2 separate regions of the Homo sapiens genome follow, and region 1 is linked to region 2. The links are contacts of gene promoters, found by promoter capture Hi-C in blood cells and fetal thymus (Javierre and others, 2016). All regions are on one chromosome and are shown on one strand. Each heading gives the region's core, a stretch centred on a gene start or on the middle of the fragment in contact. The rest is flanking DNA. Distances are from core to core; before and after follow the strand shown.

Region 1 (6,587 bases), core at 1,353-3,852, 170 kb before region 2:
CCCCACACCGAGTCCCCACCGGGGCATTGCCTAGTGGAGCTGTGAGAAGAGGGCCACTGTCCTCCAGACCCCAGAATGGTAGATCCACCGACGGCTTGCACCATGCACCTGGAAAAGCTGCAGACACTCAGTGCTAGCCTGTGAAAGCAGCTGGAAGGGGCGCTGCACCCTGCAAAGCCACAGTGGTGGAGCTTCCCAAGGCCATGAGAGCCCACCTCTTGCATCAGCTTGACTTGGATGTGAGACATGGAGTCATAGGAGATCATTTTGGAACTTTAAGGTTTAATGACTGCTGTTATTGGTTTGTGGACTTGCATGGGGCCTGTAGCCCCTTTGTTTTGGCCAATTTCTCCCATTTGGAATGGGTGTATTTACCCAGTGCCTGTACCCCCATTGTATCTAGGAAGTAACTAGCTTGTTTTTGATTTTACAGGCTCATTGGCAAAAGGGACTTGCCTTGTCTCAAATGAGACTTTGGACTTGGACTTTTGGGTGTATGCTGGAATGAGTTAAGACTTTTGGGGACTGTTGGGAAGGCATGATTATGTTTTGAAATGTGAGGACATGAGATTTGGGAGGGGGCAGGAGTAGGATGGTATGGTTTGGCTGTGTCCCCACCCAAATCTCATCTTGAATTTTAATCTCCATAATCCCCACGTGTCATGAGAGGGACCTGGTGGGATATAATTGAATCATGGGGGTGGTTTCCCCCATGCTGTTCTCATGATAGTGAGTAAGTTCTCACAAGATCTGATAGTTTTATAAGTGTCTGGCATTTCCCCTGCTGGCACTCATTCTCTCTTCTGCCACCCTGTGAAGAGGTGCCTTCTACCATGATTGTAAGCTTCCTGAGGCCTCCCCAGCCATGGGGAACTGTGAGTCAGTTAAACCTCTTTTCTTTCTAAATTACCCAGTCAAAATTATTTCTTCATAGTGATAGTGACAGGAGGCAGACAAATGCCTAAGCAGATAGGGGTGGGTCCCTGGTGAAACCCAACCTTCAAGCTGAAGACAGTCCCAGGTAAATTCTCAGACCAGATCAAAAACCTGTCTTCCCATTTGGTGCACTTTCCTCTGATGGATCCCACCCTTCACCTATTTTACGTATACCTACCCTTCCCTAATTGTTTTTTTTACACTGTCATGCCCATCTTTGAGTGGTACATTTTAGAGTAACCCTGCTTATTCCTGCGAACCAACCAGCAATCTCCAGCTGCAGTTCAGAAGAAACAAAAGGGCTGGGTAATGTAAAAATCTGGATCAATATTCTAGTTCTGGGCAATTATTCTGCAAATCCTGCCAGGTGATAGGAGTAAATTTATTAGATATAAAATCAATATTTCCAAATTGATTAGATTTCTAAAATAGCAGTAGACAGAAAATATAATTTGAAAATATCATTTACAGTAGCAACAAGCTACAACAAATATATCATACAAAGATTAGTAAAACCTCTAAGAGAAAATAAACTTTATTTAGAGCTGTTAAAGAATACCTAAGCCGGCCTGACGCAGTGGCTCATGCCTGTAATCCCAGGACTTTAGGAGGCTGAGGCGGGCAGATCATTTGAGGTCAGGAGTTCGAGACTAGCCTGGCCAACATGGTGAAACCCTCTCTGTACTAAAAATACAAAAATTATCTGGGTGTGGTTGTGCAGGTCTGTAATCCTAGCTACTCAGGAAGCTGAGGCAGGAGAATTGCTTGAACCCAGGAGACAGATGTTGCAGTGAGTTGAGATTGTGCCACTGCACTCCAGCCTGGGTGACAGAGTGAGACTCTTGTCTCAAAAAAAAAAAAAAAAAAAAAAAAAAAGAATACCTAAACTTGGCGCGGTGGCTCACACCTGTAATCCCAGCAGTTTGGGAGGCTGAGGCAGGAGGATTTCTTGAGCCCAGGAGTTCAAGACCAGCTGTGGCAACATAGTGAGACCCTGCTTCTACAAAAAATAAACAAAATCAGCCAAGCATGAAGGCATGTGCCTGTGGTCCCAGCTAGTTGGGAAGCTGAGGTGGAAGGATCATTTGAGCCTGGGAGGTTGAGGCTGCAGTGAGCTGAGCTCATACCACTGTACTCCAGCCTGGGCAACAGAGCAAGACCTTGTCTTAAAAAAAAAGAAAAGTAAGTAAATGAGAAGATATACCATATTCATTGTTAGCTAAAAGTGTAAAGATGTCAGTTCCCCTTAAATTAATCTATAGAACCAATGCTATTACAGGTACAATCCCAAAGAGAATTTGACAAGATGATTCTAAATTTTATGTGGAGGCACAAAGGATTGATAATAGTTAAGGCACTCCTAAAAAAGAACAAGTTGGGAATACCGGATATCCAGACTTATCTTAGACCCTCTAAGAGTAAATATAAGCTTGCCATCCATGTATTCAGATCCTCCAGAATCACACTCCACTTTATCTGTCCTATCTCATCTGCCTGTGCTCCTCAGCATGAAACGTTTGTTCCAGTCTGCTTGATCTCACGGTCTGCTGAATTTGAGCTGTGGCCACCTCCCTTTGCCTTTGCTCTTTCTGTTTTCCTTGCCTTTAATTTACTAACTCCTCCTTTCTATCAACCCCTGGCCTGGCCCTACTCAAATATTACCTCCAATATATTTATATATTTTTGGTTCTCCAGTTTACATAAGTCTCTTTCCTCCAAACTCTTATACCACTTTTTGGTTCTGCTATTTATTCTTCTATTTTTTTCATATATAGCATAGAAAGAGAGGAGAAAAGGGAGAAGGGAACACAGAGCTGGGCATTCAGAATTAGCCATATGTATGCCTGATACAGCTGATTAGGAGCTCTACAGTTTCCCTGAACATGGATCCAAGATCTGACAGAAAGCTTGCCAAGAGCCATTGAACACTCACCGGCTGACTTATATGGGAAGCGTCTTACAGCCTGATAAGATCTTACAGAATCGGTGGCAACCTGAAGTTGTTTTCAGGACATAAGAGCTATTTTTACCTCTCTTCATCTGGTTAACAGTTTGTCCATGAAAACAAAAAGACTAAAAACCCAGACACAACCTGAATGTCCACCAATAGGGGTTCTGGCTACATTACAGAACAACCACAGGCAGCTAGTTAAAAAAAAAGGGAGACAACTCCATGTGACTGACAGGGAATTATCACCAAGAGATAGATAAGAGAAAAAAAAATCAAGGTGCAAAACAACATCACCATGTGTGGCTTTTCTTGTTTGTTTGTTTGTTTAATACTCATGGTTTTGAACCTGCAGAGAGACTTTGGTAATTGTGGGTGCCTAAGAAGAGGGACTGAGGGTTGGAAGTTAAGAGTAGGAGACTGGCTTTCCACTGAATATCCTTTTACAACTTTTGTATTTTGTACCCTGTGTAACTATTGACTACTCAACAAATAAATGTTCAAGAGGAAATAAAAGGAAACAAAGATATTGAAAACAAACCAGCAAATTAGATGGTGTCAAAGGACAGAATTCTGACTTTTGTACTGTATCTTAGAAGACCAAAAGCAATGCCTAGCCAGGACAGCACGGTCCTCATTAAAACTAAGATGACCTTCTATCCTGACTTTCAGCTAAAGTGTGAAGTGGAGGAAGCACAGAGCTAAGCTATAGCTGCAAAATTCAGTACCTTTAAAAAGATACTTGCATCAGAATTATAACTGGGAGAGAATGGGTTGCTTAGCACTGGTTATTCCAGAAAGAGAACCAAATTACAAACCATGCCTGTAATCCCAGCACTTTCGGAGGCTGAGGCAGATGTATCACAACGTCAGGAGTTCGACACCAGCCTGGCCAATATGGCGAAACCCCATCTCTACTAAAAATACAAAAAAAATTAGCTGGGCATGGTGGCACATGCCTGTAATCCCAGCTACTCAGGAGGCCGAGGCAGGAGAATTGAACCCAGGAGGTGGAGGTTGCAGTGAGCCGAGATGGGGCCACTGCACTACAGCCTGGGCGACAGAGAGAGACCCTATCTCAAAAAAAAAAAAAAAGAAAAAGCCAAAAAATAACCCTTTGTAGTTGCAAACCACAAGCTAGTTATTTTTTTTGTTTGTTTGTTTTTTTTGTTGTTGTTGTTGTTTGTTTTTTGTTAATGGCACAATGAAGTCAGGGACTCAGGTTCTTTTTTTTTTTTTTTTTTGAGACAGAGTTTCACTCGTCGCCAGGCTAGAGTGCAGAGGCGCGATCTCAGCTCACCGCAACCTCCACCACCTGGGTTCAAGTGATTCTCCTGCCTCAGCCTCCCGAGTAGCTCGGATTACAGGTGTGCGCCACTACACCCAGCTAATTTTTTAATATTTTTGGTAGAGACGGGGTTTCACCATGTTGGCCAGGCTGGTCTTGAACTCCTGACTTCAAGTGATCTGCCCACCTTGGCCTCCCAAAGTGCTGGGATTACAGGTGTGAGCCACCGCGCCCAGCCCACATGCTAGTTTTTAACCCACTTCCTGCTGGAAGGAGAGAAGAGGTCTGTGACTTCTGCTCAGCTCCACCATGGAGACCAAATCAAGCAGGCTTTGGAACTGCTGCTTCAGGTGAATGGTAACCAGAAACCCAGGGAATTTATAGAAAGGGCAAGGTCAAAGAGCTGAGAAAAAGACTTAAGTCATGGTCAACACCTGCCAATGCAATGGTGTAGGCATGAAAGGGCTTGAAGGCTGAGAAATGCCACTAAACTAAGTGACAATCCCCAGCATCTCCCTTGAAAAGGTATTAATGGGCTTCAAAATAGAAAAACTGTTAGTTTGCTGTGAGGCTTCTTGTTTATTTATTTATTTATTTATCTATCTATTTATTTATTTATTTATTTTTGAGACAGAGTCTCGCTGTGTTGCCCCAGATGGAGTGCAGTGACGTGATCTTGGCTCATTGTAACCTCTGCCTCTGCAGGCGATTCTCCTGCCTCAGCCTCCCGAATAGCTGGGATTATAGGCGTGTGCCACCACACCCAGCTAATTTTTGTATTTTTAGTAGAGATGGGGTTTTGCCATGTTAGCCAGACTGGTCTCAAACTCCTGACCTCAAGTGATCCACCCCTCTCAGCCTCCCAAAGTGCTGAGATTACCGGCGTGAGCCACCGCGCCTGGCTGAAGCTTCTTTACAACTATAAGTAATTAAGTATGGCAGGATGGATGGATAATTTTTGGGATTCAAATGTCAGATTCATAATCATATTGTTCAGCAAGGAAAGGAAAGCAGGTCCACTGATGTGTTCGTGCAAGAATAGCTATTAACAGGGGTCCATGGAACAAGGTCTAGAGGATCTTGGCACTTAAATCAAGATAAGGTTTTTTTATATTAAAAATATTTAATAAAGACATTATCACAACCTCTACAGTCCCAATGAATTCTCAGAATTGGTGAATTTTACAGGGCTAAAGAAGAGAAAAAGAAACCAGAATATCCCTTAGAAAAAGTGAACACGTGGCAGAATTAAGGTCTGGAGTAGCAAAACAAATGGTATAGGTGGGCCTCTGCCACTTATCCAGATCTCTGGCCAGTGAGTTTCAGTGCATGGGGGCCAGTTGATCTCCAACCCCAATCGGAGTTCTGGTGAGCCAGCTGGGCTCAGATGAGAGACTTCACAGCCTGATTTGCTTTCAGCGTGAGAGAGTATGTCATAAGCAGTATCACTGTGAATATTTGGCCACTTATTTTTTGGCATTTTTCACACCCCAATTTATTGACCACATTTGAAGCTTGGGGAGATGAGAGATGGCCCCATATTTTCTTTTGCTTTGGCAAAGAAGACCATCTAATGGGAGCCTGCAGTCTTGAGGATTTTTGCCTAGTGAACATATCCCTTCTTGCCTGTGACTGTGCAATTTCTAGAGAATTTCCCCATTCTTCAACCTTAAGGATTTCAGGCACAAGGTATGAATCACTAAGAATCTAGCAGCAGCTCTAGAAGCCTCCAAAGATAATTGCACTTCCCCAACAGGGGGACGGGGGTGGAGTGTAAATATGAAAGAACAGTGGATGGCCTAAATCAGTATGTGTCACTCTTTGTAAAGAGCCACAAGTGTTTGACTAGGGAAAAAGGAAAAGAGGCGAGAGTAACGAGAAAGAGACACCAAGATCGAGAGGAATGGGGGAAAGGAGATCTCTATGAGGTGTTACTGTGAGTCATGGATAGGTTTTTATTAATAGACTCTGAAGTATATAAATAGAATTGGAATTCCTTTTATTTTATTTTTTTTGATATGGAGTCTCTGCTGCCCAGGCTGCAGTGCAGTGGCACAATCTCGGCTCACTGCAACCTCTGCCTCCCGGGTCAAGTGATTCTCCTACCTCAGGATTACAGGCGTGGGCCACCAAGCCCGTCTATTTTTTTTATTTTTAGTAGAGCCGGGGTTTCACCATGTTGGCCAGGCCGGCCTTGAACTCCTGACCTCAGGTGATTCACCTGCCTCGGCCTCCCAAAGTGCTGGGATTACAGGCGTGAGCCACTGTGCCCAGCCTGGAAATCTTTTTAAATACTTCTTGTTGGTGACCACTGTTTATTTGACTGTGACATCATGCAGATACATGGGACCATGGAGCTCAGGCCTCCCTTTGGGTCACACTAGGCTCCTGAAAGGTGACAGTGTAACAGTAGTG
Region 2 (5,212 bases), core at 2,273-4,772:
AAGCTATTTTGGGGATTGCTTGGTTCAGCCCTTCCCATGAGAGATGGGAAAATTGAAGCCCAAAGAGAGACAATTACTTTAATGTCCATGACAAGGTAAGGCTAAGCTCCTAACAGAGAACTTTCCTATTTCACTACATTAAGCTGTAGTTCTAACATGCAAGATCTCAGGAGTGAAAGTAACTTGGGAAAAACGGAGGACCCTGAAACTCCTGCTCAAGATGGTCTTTTCCCTTTTTATTCCACCAGGATCCTATCATTCCTCTGAAACTCTATTTCCTATGAATATTAGGTTGACAGAAAAGCAAATAAAACCACTGGCCAATTTAGGCAGCATTTCGAGCAGCCTGATTTGATGTCCTGCACACAAATTACTCTGGTGATCACTATTACCCAGACTCCAGTAACTTTGGAGAGCTTCGTTTTTAAAGCAGATCTCAGTTCTTTGAAATCTGGCTCATCTTCTGGACACGTCACGTGTCAGATGTCTTGTTCTCTAGAGCTCTCAAATGTGGTCTGAAATGGCAGGATTTGAAGAGGATGCAGATGTGGAGGGGAAAGAGACCAGAAGGGAATTACCTCCTGGTGGAACAGCCACTGCAGATACTTTTGGAGAATCCAGCAAGTGCCTGTGGGCAGAAGCTGAGGTCAAGACACCAGGGGACAGTAAGGAGGGGGCATCCATGGTGCCCCTAGCCCCCTGTACCCACCCCTCTCTCCAGCACTACCCTCGCACTGCCAAATTTCCCTTAACCAGGTGGGCCCCCTGAAGCCACCTCGAGGCCGGAGATCAGCTCACCGCCAACCCTACAATCATTTTGGATTTCAGAAGATCTTCTCAGCCAGCTGCTAGAAAGAAATGTAATTAGATGAGAAAAGTAATTCACATTAAAGCGTGGATGACTAAGTGTCTTGTCACTCCTAATGAACGCTGGCATTTTAAAATAAGTTTGCCTAAAATAAATCTCTCATTTGGGGAGGCGTGGGCCAAATCTTTTTTATATAGGGGAGGCTTTGGAAGTGAAAGTCCTCTGAAGCGCTGATTTCTACTTCAGGAGGCCACTTCCTTCTCTCTACCCCACCCTCGCCCTATTCCCCAGGCGCTGGGCCTGCACGGTGCTAGCTTCTGAAGGGTTGCCGGGCAAGGCTGAGCATTTTCAGAGCAGCCATTAGATGGCACTGGCAGCCAGTGACTGGCCCAGGTGCGCTTCGGCTAAAGGGGCAACTGAACGAGCTTTGGTCAACCTTGGTGTCCTCTCCTGGCTCCAAGGGACAGGCTGTTCCCATTGTACCCTGCCAGTGATCTATTCAAGTACACAGCCAGAACTTGGTGGACCAGGCAATTAGATTAAAGCTCCAAGTTGACCATAGCACATTTAGCTCTGAAAAATGCCCAGATGTTACAGTCACAGAAAAATGGTAGTTACGTATGTCACCAAATGCAAATGTAAAGTAACATATTAGTAAAGGAAAAAACAAAATCTTACAGGTCTGATAGTTCCCTCAATTATATTTCAATTCTTGTCAAAGATAACTACTCTGGAGTGATTTCCATTTGCTAGAAGCAATGACTTCAGGCCTTCCTGGAAAGCCCCAGAGAGCATTTCCCCTCCTTATGCCCTATGTGCTGTGTTGTACAATGTGGTAACATATTCACTCCCACCCTCTCAGAGCTTATATTCTGTTGCTAAACTGGTTAGATGGCTGCTATTGCTAAAACTTCAGATTCTTCCCTGAAAGATGGTCTTGTGTTTGTATTGTATATTTTGCTTATGTGTATGTGTATTTGCTTATGTGTATTTTCAGTTCTCTACAATGAACAAATAGTACCTTTTGTGTCATTTTTAAAGCAACAAATTATTGGGGAAATATCAAATGTTGTGCTTTTTTAAGTAGGGAAAGTATTATAATCCAAAAATGGAAAGCTCTGGAAAAATAGAAACTTGAAATTTGCTCATCCTGAGATTAACTTTATAGTAGAACTACACTTATTAGAACTTCATAGGTGTGAGGGGCTCTCTATGAGCTCAACAAATCATTTTGCTTGTTACTGTAAAACTGCACGCTGGCCATGACCTTTTGTAAAGATTAGAGGAGCACAGGGGCCGAGTTTTGTCCTTACACCATGACATACATGCATCGAGTCCTATAACAAAAGCATCAAAGGAACAGTAAGTCATTAAAGTGGCCATAATCTGTGCAGAGTTTATAAACTGACACACACACAAAAAAAATCCACACACACTTTTATTTTCCTTGGCTCCTTCCAGCCATTCTGTAAGAACCCTCCCTGCCCCATTTAAACATGAAGAATTTGGGGAATCCAAATGCCAAGTGGACTGTCTCTCCTTCGCTGGAAACGCCCCTTACCTGAGCCTTGATCATTCCAAATGGCTGCCCGTGCCCTCAACCCAGGATCTGCGCCATAAACCGTCCACCCCGGTTCTGTTGAGGGCATCCGAAACTAGACAGTGCGTTTCAGGATCTAGGACAGCTCCCGCCCCGGCCACCTGTTTTTAACCCCAGCTAGGTCTTGGAGAGAAGAGACCCAACTATTCTGCATTGTAATTGACCCAGTTATCATGTAATTATCATAGCGCGGCCACCTCGGGTGCGCTAAGGTGGGCAAGGAAACAAGGATTCAGGGGTCTGAATCCGAAAAAATCCGGAAGGCAGGGCGTTCATTATGACTTTTATCCTTTTCTCTGCTGCCCCGTTTCCAACATTAATTTGCGATAGCGTGTATGGAATTTGACTTTCAAGATGTGACACCTATCCTGGAAACTGGGAGCAAGAGATACTAAAAGACCGGGCTGGCCGGGGGCGGTGGCTCGCGCCTGTAATGCCAGAACTTTGGGGGGCCAAGGCGGGCGGATCACCTGTTGTCGGGAGTTTGAGACCAGCCTGACCAACATGGAGAAACTCCGTCTCTACTAAAAATACAAAAATTAGCCGGGCGTGGTGGCGCATGCCTGTAATCCCAGCTACTCGGGAGGCTGAAGCAGGAGAATCGCTTGAACCCGGGAGGCGAAGGTTGCGGTGAGCAGAGATCACCCCTTTGCTCTCCAGCATGGGCAACAAGAGCGAAACTCCGTCTCAAAAAAAAAAAAAAAGACCGGGTTGTCCCAAGACCTCCTAGCAAGCTCTCGGAGCCTCCGGACCGCCGCGAGCCCCTGGGGGAGAGGAGGCCGCCGGCTCCCTGGAGACAGCGCCTGCAGCTTCGCGGCCGTCCGCCCAGGGGCCGGACGTGGGCCCTCCAGCTCAGCTACTGGCGGCTTCTCATGCCGCAGTCGGCGCAGAAAGTTTGTCGAGAACTCGGGACCGCGGAGAGCCAGAGGCGCCCAGGTCCGCCTTCGGAGCCGGAGCCGGCCGACTGCATCGCGAGGACGGGGACAGGGGATCCCGGGGAAAGAGCACGGGTCCCCCACGCTGCGCCCTTACCTGTCTCGGGAGGCTGCTCTCTGAGGGCGGGGACGCTCGGCGGCCTCTCTCGGTCGCGGCTCTTCTTCCCCTCCTTCGCCGCCGCTTGGTCCCGCGCTCCTCTGTCCTTATATACTTGCCGAGCTCTCCTGGTGGGCGCGGGACTTTGACCTTCCCGGCAGCACAAGGAGCAGCTCCCCGGGCCAGGGGAAGGGGGGCCGCGGGGCGTGGGAGGGGGGCTTCCAGACGGGGGACGAGCGCGGGGAGACGCGCTGGAAAGGGGCTGGAATTAGCACTGTCCTGCCGAAGGCGCACCTGGCCGCTCGCCCTCAGGAAGAACTTAATTATGGATGGCGTTGGGTCTCCGCTTAGAACGGGCGGGAGGCTTAGCACCCCCGTGTGGGGCAGGCCGGGCAGCCTCTGAGGTCGTTGAGGCGAGGGTGAAGTTACCTGCGTGCGTGCTGGGGCTGGCATCTGCCTGGTTCGCATTTGGCGGTAAATATCACCGTCTGCACACGGGGAGGCCTCCGATTTCCCCATTGTTTGGAAACTGTGATGTGGAAGTCGTGGGGAATCATATTCTCTCTGTTCCACTTTGGGGAGGGGAGGAGGGAGCAGAAGTCAGGAGCCGTCTTGTGGGTGTGAAGGTGAGTTGCACTGCTCCCCTGGGGCCTGCTCTCCAAGGGCCTGGTTTAGGGGAGGCTCCCTTCCGTGTCCCAAGCCTCAAGGAAAAAGTCCTGTTAACCTAAACCATTAAATGGGGAGAGGGTGATGCTGTGAAGAGCAGCTGAAGTGCTTTCCCTGTGGCCTCTGATCCCTCCCTTTGCCATGAGCTGGCAGGGTGGTCTGGGGACTCAGACAATTTTCAACATCCCCCTTGGCCCTGGAGTTCTGGCTTGGCTTTAGTTCCAAATATCAGACCAGAGAGAAGAGTACAGCACTCAAACCAAGCTAAGAGACTCTACCTTAACCTGGAGTAAATAAACAAAACCAAATTGTGCGATGTGGTGGGTGTGGGAGGGAGTATTGGGACTAAACTGGACTTCAAATCAAGACACTTGCTTAATCTGCCAAATGCCAGAACTTTCCTGATTCCCCATGAGATGCTCTTTTGGACTCCAGGACTCTCTTGTGGATTCAGCTTTTCTGGTGACATTGGCTTTACATTCAGCAATCCTTTCCCTTTGGACCACAAGAGAGATCCAAGCTCCGTCACAGTAGACAAGGTGCTTCATCACCCGGCTTTGGCCCCTTTCCAGGGCCATTTCCCAGTTCTCCACCTTGCATCCTGGCACTTCAGCATCCACAACATTCACACTGCTAGAACATGGCTTTCTTGGGTCTCCATTGTCCAAGCTGTTCCCCCAACTAGAACATCCTTCCTCTCTCCAGCCATCCAGGAGCTTGACTCACATCAAGATGTAGCCCATCCATCAGCCCCTGTTCTCTGAAGCCCTCTTTGGCCACTTTTCCTACCAGGGGCATGAGGCATGACCTCCTCTGCCTTCCACAGAAGTCCATCCCCATCTTGTCAGTGCAAGTGGCTTGCACTAATTCACTTCTGTCCCCATTTTTTTAATCTTCCATCCACCCCACGACCACCATCAGGTTTGTAAACTCTTTCAAGCAGATGGTGGTTTTGCCTTATTTTACTTTGTGTTATTTTTGTAACTTCAGGAGGCTGCTGGTGGCAGCAGATAAAACAAACCAGGAAAAATCCAAATGGACCCAACTTCTTTAACTGGGTTCCTTCTTTCTTTTCTTCTCTCTCTCTCTCATTCTGTTTGTTTGTT

What was found. Contacts are between HindIII fragments. The CHiCAGO score rates a contact against its expected background, and 5 or more counts as called.
Region 1: a fragment that was not itself captured here is called in contact with the fragment with the promoter of POMC in region 2 in 1 of 17 cell types (M1 macrophages); the score reaches 5.3 in M1 macrophages.

Annotation. Positions count from the first base shown.
Region 1 is chr2:24,991,135-24,997,721 of GRCh38, forward strand. All of the region lies in intron 1 of DNAJC27-AS1 (DNAJC27 antisense RNA 1), which reads left to right. Among named protein-coding and RNA genes, the nearest start is that of DNAJC27-AS1, 22 kb to the left of the region's middle. The HindIII fragment of the contact is 478 bases long and covers 2,364-2,841 here.
Region 2 is chr2:25,165,058-25,170,269 of GRCh38, forward strand. POMC (proopiomelanocortin) reads right to left here and starts at 3,523. Exons shown (of 3, transcript NM_000939.4): 1 at 3,441-3,523. RefSeq lists a promoter at 3,397-4,209, cis regulatory regions at 3,548-3,560, 3,626-3,799, 3,800-3,825 and an enhancer at 3,620-3,639. The HindIII fragment of the contact is 11,223 bases long and covers 1-5,212 here.